Linked DNA regions of Homo sapiens: region 1 is linked to region 2. Evidence: promoter capture Hi-C in 16 types of primary human blood cells and fetal thymus (Javierre and others, 2016). All regions are on one chromosome and are shown on one strand. The core of a region is centred on a gene start or on the middle of the fragment in contact, and the rest is flanking DNA. Distances in the headings are between cores, read along the strand shown.

Evidence for each region. The method cuts DNA at HindIII sites, captures the fragments that hold promoters and counts their contacts. A CHiCAGO score of 5 or more calls a contact.
Region 1: a contact is called between the fragment with the promoter of NT5DC4 here and the fragment with the promoter of POLR1B in region 2, in 7 of 17 cell types (erythroblasts, neutrophils, M1 macrophages and 4 more). The highest score is 10.2, in erythroblasts.

What each region holds. Positions count from the first base shown.
Region 1 is chr2:112,718,439-112,722,460 of GRCh38, forward strand. It overlaps NT5DC4 (5'-nucleotidase domain containing 4), which reads left to right and starts at 2,582. Exons shown (of 17, transcript NM_001393655.1): 1 at 2,582-2,715; 2 at 3,380-3,453; 3 at 3,548-3,665; 4 at 3,745-3,840. The coding sequence starts at 2,642. The HindIII fragment of the contact is 3,072 bases long and covers 2,549-4,022 here.
Region 2 is chr2:112,541,047-112,544,660 of GRCh38, forward strand. POLR1B (RNA polymerase I subunit B) reads left to right here and starts at 1,419. Exons shown (of 15, transcript NM_019014.6): 1 at 1,419-1,625. The coding sequence starts at 1,449. TTL (tubulin tyrosine ligase) reads left to right here. Exons shown (of 7, transcript NM_153712.5): 7 at 1-693. LOC105373562 (a long non-coding RNA gene) reads right to left here and starts at 1,166. Exons shown (of 2, transcript NR_136321.1): 1 at 1,157-1,166; 2 at 610-1,032. RefSeq lists an enhancer at 1,302-1,451. The HindIII fragment of the contact is 8,470 bases long and covers 1-2,202 here.

The DNA.
Region 1 (4,022 bases), core at 1,332-3,831, 180 kb after region 2:
CACTGTCGAGTTGACCCCAGAAGAGGTACCTGGAGAAGGGACCCGAGAAACCACTGAAGTGATTCATCGTACCTGAACGTTGCTGGATGGCTTCACCACCCTCAGGTGCACAGAGCCTTCAAGATAGAGCCTAAGTTCAGCTATAGGAAAGGCAGGTTTTGTACAGCTGCCATGATGCCTCCCAGTGGAAGGGCTGAGCAACCCCTAGAGACTTCTCCTAACCAGGTATTACTCCTCCTTCTCTTTTCTGACCTAGAAAGGAGCCAGGCAATGTGGAAAAGGGGCTTAAAGGGCTCCCATGAGATGAGCAGAGCGCATGGAATAATGAGTGGAAGCGACTCCAGACAGCCTCCTGATTTCTGAAGCTCAGTTCTCCCCTGACACCTTCCGTGAAGGCTGCTGTATATAGCCTGCTAACCATCAGCCCGTCTATCCACGAATCTACCCATCCAACTGTCTGTCCATTCACTCATTCATGCATCCACCCATCTCTCCATCCATCCTCCATTCCTCCATCCGATGAGGAAACACATATCCTACAGCCTCCATATCCTTGCCTCACCATCTTAATACAGTCATGCGGGGCTTGACCACAGGGATCTGTTCTGAAAAACGTGTCATTAGTCGATTTCACCATTGTGTGATGTCATAGAGTGCACTTACACAAACCTAGATGGTACAGCCTACTACACACCTCGGCTGCAGGGTACAGCCTATTTCTCCTAGCCAGCATCACCACAAACATGTGAGTGATGCTTTGCATTATGATGGCGATGAGGTCACTAAGCCATAGGAGTTGTTGAGCTCCTTATCACCTTATGGGACTCAGTGGCATACGCAGTCCACTGTTGGGCGGAACATCGTTCCGCAGCACACAACTGTGCTTGCTCACCTGGCTTTGTCAAGGAAGGAGCTCTTCCATGGATATGTTTTTCTGTTGTTGTTCCAGATAACTTTTATCCTTTTAAGAGTGCCACCTTCATTTAGTTTAGTTTAGCCATTTTAGAGAGAAAGTGCTGAAACCGACTGTAAACTTGTCTGTCTTTTTTTTTTTTTTTTTTTTTTGAGACGGAGTCTTGCTGTGTTGCCCAGGCTGGAGTGCAGTGGCACGATCTTGGATGACTGCAACCTCTGCTTTCTGGGTTCAAGTGGTTCTCCCACCTCAGCCTCCTGAGTAGCTGGGATTACAGGCATGCGCAACCATGCCTGGTTAATCTTGGTATTGTTAGTAGAGATGGGGTTTCACCGTGCTGGCCAGGCTTGTCTCAAACTCCCGACCTAGTGATCTGCCCGCCTTGGCCTCCCAAAGTGCTGGGATTACAGGTGTGAGCCACTGCGCCAGGCCCTTTTCTTTCTTCCTTTCCTTTTCTTCATTTCCTTTCCTTTCCCTTCCTTCCTTCCTTCCCTCCCTCCCTCCCTCCCTCCCTCCTTTCTTTCTCTTTCTTTCTTTCCTTTCTTTCTTTCTTTTTCTTTCTTTCTTTCTTTCTCTTTCTTTCTTTCTTTCTTTCTTTCTTTCTTTCTTTCTTTCTTTCTTTCTTTCTTTCTTTCTTTTTCTTTTCTTTTCTTTTCTTTTCCCTTCCTTCCTTCCTTCCTTCCTTCTTTCTTCCTTTTTCTTTCCCTTTTTATTGACAGGATCTCACTCTGTTGCCCAGCCTGGAGTGCAGCAATCTCGGCTCATTGCAACCTCCAACCCCTGGGTTCAAGCAATTCTCCTGCCTCAGCCTCCCGAGAAGCTGCCAAGAGGCTAATTTTTTTTTTCTCCTGCCTCAGGCTCCCAAGAGGGCAATTTTTTTTTTCTTCGTATTTTTAGTAGAGACAGGGTTTCACCATCTTGGCCAGGCTGGTCTTGATCTCCTGACCACGTATCCACCCACCTTGGCCTCCCAAAGTGCTGGGATTACAGGCGTGAGCCACTGTGCCCAGCCTTGTCTTTCTTTTTAAAAGAGGGCCTGGCACTTCAGTTAAGTCTTTCTGGATGATCCAGGTCACCGCTCCAAATGGAAGTCACATGCTTGGTTGTGGAGCCAGTGGTATGGGCCCTCAGGGAGTATTTAGAACTCTACACTAAATGGCCCCAGTGGTTCTGCTTTTTGACACTTCCTTTTGTACTTTCTGCCACCCCCCCATTCTGAGATCCCAGTTATCTTCCCAATTCTTATAGCCCTTGGCATGCTTCTAGCAATGTCTTCTCTAAATGGCCTTGAGCTGGGAAATTTGATAACCAAATGTGTCAGAATTGTGCATAAAGCAAGAGTACTGAGTTATTTCTTTTATCATGAGTACAGTACGGAGCCTCCTGACTTTGTATCCCGTCATTTGCCTCATTCTGGGTTCTCCGCTACTCTCCAGGCCGCTGAGGTCCATGGATGCATAAGCCCTAGGAATGAGGAGGGTGCAGTGGACATGAATTGCTCTTCCTAGATCCTTGCTGCTTTTGCTCTAGAGAAAAGGATGGGATACCAGAGCCTGTCCTGGCTGACTCCTCCCTCAAAGGGGCTCGGGGGAGATGGGAGCACAGGGTGGGGCCAGCTGGGTCAGTGGTGCCTGAAGCTTCTGAGGGAGAGGAGAGTGGCTGGGCCCCACTGATAGTGTGCAGGAGGCTGAGGAAGGGACACTTGCCTCCTCCTCACTCTGGGTGACGATGGCCAGTGTAGACTGGAGAGAGCCGGAGGGACTGGTCTCCCCTCAAGGCCCGAAGCAGGACTGGCACCAGCGGTGAGATGGGCACCTGGGGTGGGGGCCAGGGGTCTCAGCCCATAAACACCCCACACGCCACAGCAGCACACAGGGGCTCCTTTAAATACACAGCTATGGGGACTCCCAAAATGCAGACGTACACTTGCACTCACAAGGGACGCACTTCCATAGCTGTAACAACCCATCAGGGAACTGACCACACACACTCCGGCGGGAGGTCCTCTTCACTTCCTTCCCTCCACGAAGATCTCTCCCCTTCACCACGGACACAGTGACATGTGCTATCCAATTGTGACAAACACATCATCTCTGAATTTGGACACTGGGGTCCCATTTCAGAAGGTGACAACCCTCACACCAACAACTGCACCTACTTTCTTACAGGGTTGGATGCCTATAACATGCCTGCATGGTGGGACAGCAAGCGGCTGATTGCCCGCACACACTCAGATGCACGCTTGCACACATGCTCACACATGCTTACATGCACACTCACACTTGCCTTCAGACACACATGGGTCCAGGCAGGGCCCTGGCTTGGCCTGACCTGCTTCCCCTGTGCTTTCTGCAGCTGCAGGGGGTGCTCTGCCCTCCTCTGCGGGGTTTCCACCCCCTCTGTCCTTGGGCCTTGGATTCTGGGGGGCTGGTGGACTGATGCCAACATCCTCCTCTCTCTCCCCAGGATTTTTGTCAACCGCAGCCTGGCGCTGGGGAAGATTCGTTGCTTTGGCTTCGACATGGACTACACTCTGGCTGGTAGAGAGGGCTGGAACACAGCGTATTGGGAGCTGGAGGGAGCAGGGGTGGGCAGCTGGGCACCAAAGCCCTGATTCTGTCCGGGCCTCTGCAGCCTACAAGTCCCCAGCTTATGAGGCCCTGACCTTCGAGCTGCTGCTGGAGCGCCTGGTGTGCATTGGGTACCCGCATGAGATCCTGCGCTACACCTACGACCCCACCTTCCCCACCAGGTGTGTGGCTCAGGACAGGTGGGAGGCCACCCGGCCTTGGTACCCCCACCCACAGTGCCCCCCGACCCCCCGTCTGCAGGCGGCTGGTGTTCGATGAACTCTATGGGAACCTGCTGAAGGTGGACGCCCACGGGAATGTGCTGCTGGGTGCCTATGGCTTCACCTTCCTCTCGGAGTAAGGGACAAAGGTGCCGGGAGAGTGGCAGGCCAGGAGGGGAGGACTGCTCACCTTGGGGGAGGACAGAGGGAGGGAGGGAGGAAGGACGCAGGCCCACGGTGGAGGCTCAGCACAGAAGGGATGCGTGGTGGTTGGAAGGGATGGCCAGAGCCTGGACAGGCCTCCAGGAGGCACTGGGG
Region 2 (3,614 bases), core at 169-2,668:
AACCCCATCTACCCTCCTGTGATGATTACATCGTATGCCTATATGAAAACATCTCATATACCTCATAAATATGCTAATTATGTACCCATAAATTTTTTTTTAAATCCTCATGACCTTGGATTACACAATGATGTCTTAGATATGATATAAAAAGACAGGCAACAAAAGAAAAAAACTACACTTCAAAATTAAAACGTTTTGCTTCAAAGGACACCAGCAAGAAAGTAAAAACCCACAGAATGGGAGAAAAATATTTGCAAATCATGGATCTGACAAGGACTAGTATAGGCTATATAAAGAACTACAACTACTCAGTTGGCCGGGCGCGCGCGGTGGCTCATGCCTGTAATCCCAGCATTTAGGGAGGCAAGGCGAGAGGATCACTAGAGGCCGGAAGTTCAAGACCAGCCTGTGCAACAGACTCCCGGCTCGAATTTTTTATAAAAAGTGATATAGGAATGAAAAGTACCAGCTGAACTAGGAAAGGGGAAGTTGACAGTAAGGAGGGACTATCAGGGGCAGGAGGATACTGGGTAGTGGTGGTTTAATTCATTGTTTTAATTGTGGTGATGGCTGCATGGTTGTATACATAGGTCAAAACTTAACGCGTACACTTTAAATGTGTGGTTTATTGTATGCCAGTTATAACGCAATATAGCTGTTAAACACAAACACAATAAAGTTGAAAAACCAGCAGGCATTCCCTGATTAATCAGTATTCTGGGGAGGTAAGGGGCTCACAGGAACGCAAAAGAAATTCAGGCTGTAAATCCAGTTGGACGCCCCGCTGCCCCATCCCCTCCATCCGGGACCGCCCGACTCCTCTCCCACCTCCTTCCCCAGGCCTCCCCCAGGCCTCCAGTCCGGAAGATGCGACGAGGTTAGCGGGGCCCGACCACTCCTTGGCTTCCCAGGGGTGAGCCTCGCGAGTTAGGAGTTGGGTAGAGAGTCAGCCCGGGGCCCGGCATCCGCTTTTTCGTTGAAGCAACGACTTTGGCCGGATGACTCCCCAGGGTCGGCATCAGCGTGGGACTGGGAACAGGTGAAGGGAAACAGAAGAGAGCCTGAGAAGACCGCTCTCCTCCGATCCTAATTGACTGAGCCAATGAGAGCCAAAGAGGTCACATGCTCAACTGGGCGGGGAGCGGGTTTCCACCTGCGGCATCTTTCGCGAGCGGGGAGATGAGTGGGGCGGAATATGGGAGAAAGGGAGGGCCCGCCACGCTCTGGCTGGACACGGCCTTAATCGGCCCGTTCACTCGACGTTTTTGGTTCTACGTTGACCCCGAGAAACCGAAACCGCAGGGCCTAGGGCGGGTGGAACGAGAGGGAACTACATTTCCCAGCAGGCTGCGGAAACGGGACTGCGGCCACTACTTCCGGCGTGTACCGAGAGACTGGCGTCCGGCGTGTACCGAGAGACTGGCGTCCGGTGTGCAGGTGGCCACATGGATCCTGGCAGCCGGTGGCGGAACCTGCCCAGCGGGCCTAGCCTAAAGCACTTGACTGACCCCTCTTATGGAATCCCGCGGGAACAGCAAAAGGCAGCGTTGCAGGAGCTGACGCGGGCGCACGTGGAGTCCTTCAACTACGCTGTGCACGAGGGTCTCGGCCTCGCGGTGCAGGTGAGCGCGGCGTCCGCCGGCGCCCTTGCCGCGGCGAGGCCAATCCCAGGGAGGTGGCTGGGAGGTCACAGTATGACCCCAGATGCATGTGCTCCTTGATCCTGACAGGCTTGGTGGGTAAGCGGGAGAGCACAACATGTTAAACAGGACGCGGTACTGGCCTTCGTGAGACTTGGAGTCGAGGCGTCTTAAGAGATGTATTCGTGATTCTGGAGTGAAAAGTGATTGTGAACCGTAGTTTGGACAGTTTCGGGGTGCTGTGAGAGTGAGGAAGTGGCTTATCTGGGGATGTGCTTCACAATGCACACGGCTTTATATCACTTGAAGACTTACCTCTCCAAAACGTACCTCGAAAGATCCCGAACGTATTTGTAGGTACAGTGTAATGTTCAAGGTTATCCTTCAGTTTCCTTCTCTTAGAGCTTTAAAGAGAGAAACTACTCGTCATTTGTTATGAATTAAGCAGGTGCCGAGGAAGGTATAAATGAGTCATGAAAGCAAGATTGAATCGAAAAGTGTAATTGCATTATTAGCGTAGAGTAATGGTAGCAGAATTCAAGTGAGTATGGTGGGGGAAAGCTTCGTTTAGTAAGCATCCCCAGTGTCTCCAGGCACTAGGCTCAGAGGATGTGGAGGAGGCAGTCCCGTGTACGAGACAGTTCATGCATTTAAGTGCTCCCTGTCGTGTTTGGGGGTTGAAGGGGTGAAGATAATGAAAGCAGTGCATGCCAATGTTCTTGAGAACTGCTCTGCCAAGGGATTGTGTGGGCTACTGCGGGAGCCTATGGGCGGCGCAACTAATCCAGGAGTTTGAGAAAGGGCAGGATTAGATGAGTTCAAGAAGTGAGAAACGTGCATTTCGTCCAGGGGAAGAGTAGAGCAGAGTCACATGCTTCGGGGACCCTACCTGTGGTTTTGTTGGGTAAGATTTGTGTTGTGGGAGATAGGGATACAGATAATGTGGAGAGCTTTGATTGCCAGTCTGATTCTTGAACTCTATTCGGCAAATAATATGGGAGCCATTAAGATTTATTGTTTAGAAAGACTAGAGGGGTGGGGGTTATTTGTATTGTGCCTGGATTGTTACAGTATCATGTCTGTGAGAAAAAATTCCTAATTAAAAGTTAATCGGGCTGGGTGCAGTGGCTCACACCTGTAATCCAGGACTTTGGGAGGCCAAGGCAGAAGGATGACTTGAGCCCAGGATTTCAAGACCAGCTTGGATAACATAGTGAAACCCCATCTCCACAAAAATTTAAAAATTAGTGGGGCATGGTGGTGCGCACCCAAGTAGCTGGTCCCAGCTACTCGGGAGGCTGAGGTGGGAGGATAAGTTGAACCCAGGAATTTGAGGCTGCAATGAGCTATGATTGTGCCGCTGCACTCCATCCTCGGTAACAGAGTGAGACCTGTCTTTAAAAAAAAAAAATCCAATTGAGAAATTTTAGAAAAGCACTAATTTAAAAATAAGCCAGTCGGCTGGGTGTGGTGGCTCTTGACTGTAATCCCTGCACTTTGGGAGGTCAAGGCGGGTGGATCACTTGAGGTCAGGAGTTCCAGACCAGCCTGGCCAACCTGGTGAAACCCCATCTCTACTAAAAAATACAAAAATTAGCCGGGCATGGTGGCACATGTCTGTAATCCCAGCTACTCAGGAGGCTGAGGCACGAGAATCGCTTGAACCTGGGAGGCGGAGGTTGCAGTGAGCCAAGATTGCACCACTGCATTCCAGCCTGGGTGACAGAGTGAGACTCTCCCAAAAAAATAAATACATAAATAAATAAACCAATTATATGTTAACATTTTTAAGAAAAATATTTTCCAAAGCAAAAAAGAAGTTAGATGAATTGCATTATTAAAAATCTTTTTAATGTCTGGCTTAATGAAAAGACAGCTGGATTCTCATGTCTGCTTGTGCATTCAGTCCCTTGTGATAATTGTTTTGGTTGAAGTAGATGAAGAAAATTTGGCCCTGCATAGAAAATGATG